Linked DNA regions of Homo sapiens: region 1 is linked to region 2. The links are contacts of gene promoters, found by promoter capture Hi-C in blood cells and fetal thymus (Javierre and others, 2016). All regions are on one chromosome and are shown on one strand. The core of a region is centred on a gene start or on the middle of the fragment in contact, and the rest is flanking DNA. Distances in the headings are between cores, read along the strand shown.

Region 1 (2,700 bases), core at 19-2,518, 710 kb after region 2:
CAGGTACTATGAAGTAAGGAGACTTTTAGGTTTCTTTTTGTCTTAAACTCAGACAGCTTTGTAAGCAGTAGTGTGTAGATTACAAGAGTTAGACAAAAGCAGGCGCGACTGAGAAGAGTTGGTGGGGGAGAAGCTTGGGGCACTTCCTGTCACTCAACACATTCCAGATCACTAAAAAATTTCCACACCCTCTGCATTCCCCCTTGCCCACTCCAGTTCCCGGTATTTTCTGATTCCATATGTTGTGGTATTTACCATACTTCTCTCCCTCACTAGGCTCTGGCAAGACTGCTTCAGAGGGGATGCATTCCTTTAGATTGCACAAAGCGGAGCTGGGAAAATGGCTGGCAGTTTCAGAATCTAGTCACGATCGCACGCATGAGCACCTCACACATCCATGTCCCTACCCGCCCCCCCGCTCCCGCCCCTGCAGCTGGCTGACCTGTCTCACCCACTGCTGGCCTATCGAACGGCCAGGACTGTCTGGTTTTGGCTCGTGCCTTTGTCCATGTCTGGCTTAGTTCCTCTCTGTCTATGCTTGCCTCTACCCCCACCGCCCCAGGCGGCACAAGTGTTTGGCCACACAAAACTAGAGATAGAAAAGGTGGTAAAAACTTCAAACTTTTCTAAATTCTCCAACAGTTTATTTCTTGTGAATTTCTTCCTTCTTTAAATACTCCATTTTAAGAAAACAAAAAAATTAATTATCTAAAGGCAAAGAATGGAAAGCAACCTTTGTGTTCCTTATAATAACTGACTTCATAACTCTCTCCAGCTGCGTTATGGGATGTGTATAAAAAGCTTCTGTTCTGAGAACAAAGGAGCACGTGCAGAAATGAGACGAAAAAATCCACTGACAGTATTCCATTACACAAATTACTTAAAAGATTTTAGTCAAGCCCCTCAACAGATTCAATTTTAAAATGGCTTTTAGTTAAAAAAAAAAAATTGAAAGTGCTTACCCAGTAAAAGAACCGAAGTAGTCCTGAACTGTTACGTAAGACTTTTTACAGTTGGATCTTTGTCAAAAGGGGATGGGGGTGATGGGAGAAAGCAGCAACGACAATCAAAAAAGTTCGAGCTGCTGTGGCTAGAGGACAACTTCTGTGTTTCCAGATAGGATTCTTGCTGTAGAAATGGAACTTCCAGCCAGCACAGCATCCTGTCCCAGTAGAGAAATGAGTTTGTCAGTTAAAACAAAAAAAAAATTAGATACTGGAACCCAGGCTAGACGAGGTATTGAACCGCGCCAGATTTCCTTGCAGCCCTGTCTGCTCAGCTCGCATTGAACTATATATGACCCAGATGATGGACAGAAGCACATTTAGTCATGTGCACACTGGAAGAAAGCGGATTTGCTGGTCCCTGGCAGTGCAGGGGTTTGTCTTCTGATTGGGCTGTGCCCTGATCGGTGAAATGTGAAGCCCTCACCATTCAGAGGCCGTAATTCAGGACTGGCAGTTTGAGTGTCTGGCTGCCTCTAGTCACTGAGAGACTTTGAAGGTGTTGCTTTTGTTTGGTGGCATTACCCACCCAGAGGTTGCTTACACCTCTCTACTTGTGTCAGAAGAAATACTAGTCTTTCTGAAATACAAATAGGCAGCCGATTTTTCCTGAATCCTAAATCACCCTATTGTTGATAAACTTGGCTCTAACTGAAACCAATTATTTGATTTGAAAATTTATTGTGATCCTAACCAAGCTTCATATCCAGACCAACCCTTGGTCTTGATTTTATAGGTTTGATAAGGTAAAAATAAAAGTGGCATATTTGACTTTGAAGCCTCTATATGATATAAATTGCTCTTAATGAAAATTGGATAGATGGACAACAGAGAAGTGAAGTTTTAGATTCTGGAGTGTTTGGATGTATGAGGAAGAAGCTTTATGTCTTTTTATCCCCTTTGTGAGACTGTCACTCTTGTCCCAGTCCTAGTCACATTAGGGGTTGCTGGGGGGGGGAAGCTATGAAAGCATGGACCCTACTGAGCTGTGACATAGCCTTTAATCATGCAAGACAGCCACGGTCTGCTCTCTTCAGTCTGTCTGAACTAGGGTCCTTGGGGTTTATTTTCCATCTTTCTGAGCCACTGGGAAACCAGGTCATTATACAGGACTGTCATTTGTGACATTTTTGTTTAGTACATGGCAGTTGCTTTGTTTATTTAATGCAAGTTGACACTTCTTTAAAGTTTCAAAACAGTAAAGTTGTTTTGTGAGACCTTGACTCTGATATATGAAATCTACTCTACATGGACCAATCATTTTTTTCCGTGGACTTTCTTGTCTCTTTAGAAATTAGCTTATAGAGTCCTAAATTGATACTTAAACATACCAATAGTTCTGTTTATTTCTTGCCTTTCTCACAGTTGTTGAAATAATTCCATCTGTCTCTTTTGCTGTAAATTTTGGGTTTGGATGTTTGTACTTGGAATTTTTTAGATGTTGACTATATTATGCAGCACCTTCCATATGAGGACTACCCCAGAATTATTCTCTTGTCTTAACCCGAGAAAAGCTGTTTTGATGCACTATTAGATATAAGAATGTTCGAAAGAAGAGGAGATGAGCACTCTCTTGCTTTTTGTAAGCCACAAGACAATCTTTTTTTTTTCTAAGTTGTGGTAAGGTATATGTAACATAAAATTGACTGTTGTAATAATTTTTAAGTGTATAGTTCTGTGGTGTTAAGTGCATTCA
Region 2 (2,813 bases), core at 235-2,734:
CCTTGGCCACAAGATGTCACCCAAGGAACAGCAAAGCCGGGGCCTGGGAGGAAACTGGCCGACGGCAGACTCGCGGGGGAAGGGGTCGGGGATGGTGCGGAGAAGCCGCAGAGGCAGCGTGCTGCAGTGGCTGCAAATCTCGGGATTTCTAGCAGAACGGGGCGCTGTTGCCCTCAGAGGACGCCGATTTGTAGATGCCACCTAAAGATAATAAATTCGAAAATAATAAGTAAATAGGGACAAAAATCCCACCTTCCCAGAGTAAAATTAAACCCTGCTAGCCAGATAAAGGGCTGCAAACAGACAAGACACTTTGGTGTGATCAGGGCTGCAACCCAGGCAGGCACTGAGCTGGGCTCCAGGCATCCTCATCCCGGCCCTGTGCTTGGTGGGGTGGGAGCAGACACAGGAGAGGTGTGACCTGGTGTGGCACAGCCTCTGCCCCACCTAATTCTACCCACTGGAGATCAAGGGCTTTGGGGCACTCTGTCTTCCCAGAGGACGTGAAGAACTACCTGGCCCTGGACCACGACAGGGATAGTTCCTGTCCCAGCAGGGCCTGAATTTGGAAGGAAAAGATGGTGGAATCCCCGCCCTGAAGGGCTACTTTCTGCCTCTCATCCATCCCCATCTGCAAACATTAGGGACACCTGCCATTTGGAGGCATGCCCTCCCCTAGGAGCACAGGCTCCAGGGAGACACTGCTCTGGAGAGGGAGGGATGGGGGTGAGGCCTCACTGAGGAGGGAGGCAGGAGGGGGCACCTGGGGTTTTCCTCCAGAAGGGCCATCTGAGGCAGGAGGAAGGACTGTGGGGGAGGCAGTCAGATCTGGGCATCAGCAAAGGCTTAGAGGCCGGCAAAGGGCAGCACTTTGGGAAAGGTGATAGTTCTCAGTGGCTGGAGTGGGGCTGGCTGGAGGGGAAGGAGAAGGACCAGAGGCATGTGGCTGAAAAGGCAGGACAGAACCCAGGTAGAAAAGAGAAGATTTTAGGCAGAAGAGGAATCTGCTCAGACTTGATGAATTTTTTTGTTTGTTTGTTTTTGAGGTGGAGTTTTGCTCTTGTTGCCCGGGCTGGAGTGCAATGGCGTGATCTTGGCTCACTGCAACCTACGCCTCCCGGGTTCAAGTGATTCTCCTGCCTCAGCCTCTCGAGTAGCTGGGATTATAGGCATTCACCAACACGCCCAGCTAATTTTGTATTTTTAGTAGATACGGGGTTTCTCCATGTTGGTCAGGCTGGTCTCGAATTCCTGACCTCAGGTGATCCACCCACCTCGGCTTCCCAAATTTCTGGGATTACAGGTGTGAGCTACCGTGCCTGGCCAGACTTGATGAATTCTAAGGGCACCTAGGAGAAGGGGTGAGAGGGAGGCAGGGAGACTAGGAGTCAGTCGTGATTGTGGAGGTGGAAAAACTGGCTGTGGCAGCGGGGGACAGGTTTAAGAGACATTTCCCAGCCAGGCGCGGTGGCTCACACCTGTAATCCCAGCACTTTGGGAAGCCAAGGCGGGTAGATCACTTGAGGTCAGGAGTTCGAGACCAGCCTGGCCAACATGGTGAAACACTGTCTCTACCAAAAGCACAAAAATTAGCCAGGCATGGTGGCGTGTACCTGTAGTCCCAGCTTCTCAGGAGGCTGAGGCAGGAGAATCGCTTGAACCCAAGAGGCAGAGGTTGCAGTGAGCCGAGATTGTGCCACTGCACTCCAGCCTGGGCGACAAAGTGAGACCCTGCCACACACACACGCACAACACAAAAGAGACATTTGCCAAGGGCCCCTCAGGAGGTTTGGGCAATCCAGAGCCTGGGCCAGGGAAGAAGGCTGGGCAGCGGCAGGCATGAGTGACAAAGAGGCGTGTAGGGTGGGGCACATAGGGATGAAAGTATCTGGACCCAGAAAGGCATCATGTGTCAGGAATCACTCCACTGTGGTTACTGTTTATGACCACAGTGGAAAGGGACTTGAGCTCACAACCCAGCCTGTTAGTTGATAAACTGCCTCCTGGGTACAGTGTCCAATATTTGGGTGATGGGTAGGCTAGGAACCCAACCCCATCATTATGCATGTAATACCCATGTAACAAACAAGCACAGGTACCTCCTGAATCTAGAATAAAATAAAAAAATGGGTTCTCTTGGCTGTCCATGGTGGCATCACCCCTGCCATCAAGGGGCTGCACCCCACTGAGTACTTGCCGCCCTTGGCCAAATGCCTCAGTCAGACGCAGATACCAACCAGCAGGGACTGGCAAGAACTGTGACAGCTGCAGGGCTGGGTGCTGCTGCTCTTGCCTTTGCAGGTCGCTGTGCGTCGCAGTCCTGGAAACCTCTAGAACAAGGATCACAGAAGCAGTAGAGAACCTTTGAACTCCTAGCCTGTCATCCTATTACAAAGGAGGATTTGAACAGAAAATGAGTAGGAGAAAAGCTAGTGTTATTTTAGGTGTAAGTTCACCTGCTGGCAAGGCTAAGATTAGAGCAGCTCACAGGAGAATCGTGATTTTGAATCACCCAGATAAAGGTGGATCTCCCTACTTAGCAACCAAAATAAATGAAACAGAAGATTTGCGAGAAGCGACCACCGATCACCGATGGATGCTCAAGAACCCCGCTGAGGAAAAAAGGCAGGGCGCCTTTAAAAAATCCTGCAAATCAATCTACAACATGATCTTCTTAATTTTCATACATGCATAGACCACAATCTTTTCTTCTCCCATTAAGCTATTATAACAATAAAAGATTAATAATGTCCAGGCGCGGTAGCTCACACCGGTAATCTCAGCACTTTTGGAGGCTGAGGCAGGAGGATAGC

Evidence for each region. Contacts are between HindIII fragments. The CHiCAGO score rates a contact against its expected background, and 5 or more counts as called.
Region 1: the fragment with the promoter of MIR181A2HG here is called in contact with a fragment that was not itself captured in region 2 in 1 of 17 cell types (naive CD4 T cells); the score reaches 5.3 in naive CD4 T cells.

The regions. Positions count from the first base shown.
Region 1 is chr9:124,657,004-124,659,703 of GRCh38, reverse strand. MIR181A2HG (MIR181A2 host gene) reads right to left here and starts at 1,268. Exons shown (of 2, transcript NR_038975.1): 1 at 963-1,268. The region is part of intron 2 of NR6A1 (nuclear receptor subfamily 6 group A member 1); the gene reads left to right. RefSeq lists enhancers at 231-280, 1,102-1,221. The HindIII fragment of the contact is 901 bases long and covers 804-1,704 here.
Region 2 is chr9:125,372,102-125,374,914 of GRCh38, reverse strand. No RefSeq gene overlaps it. Among named protein-coding and RNA genes, the nearest start is that of GAPVD1, 110 kb to the right of the region's middle. The HindIII fragment of the contact is 3,508 bases long and covers 1-2,813 here.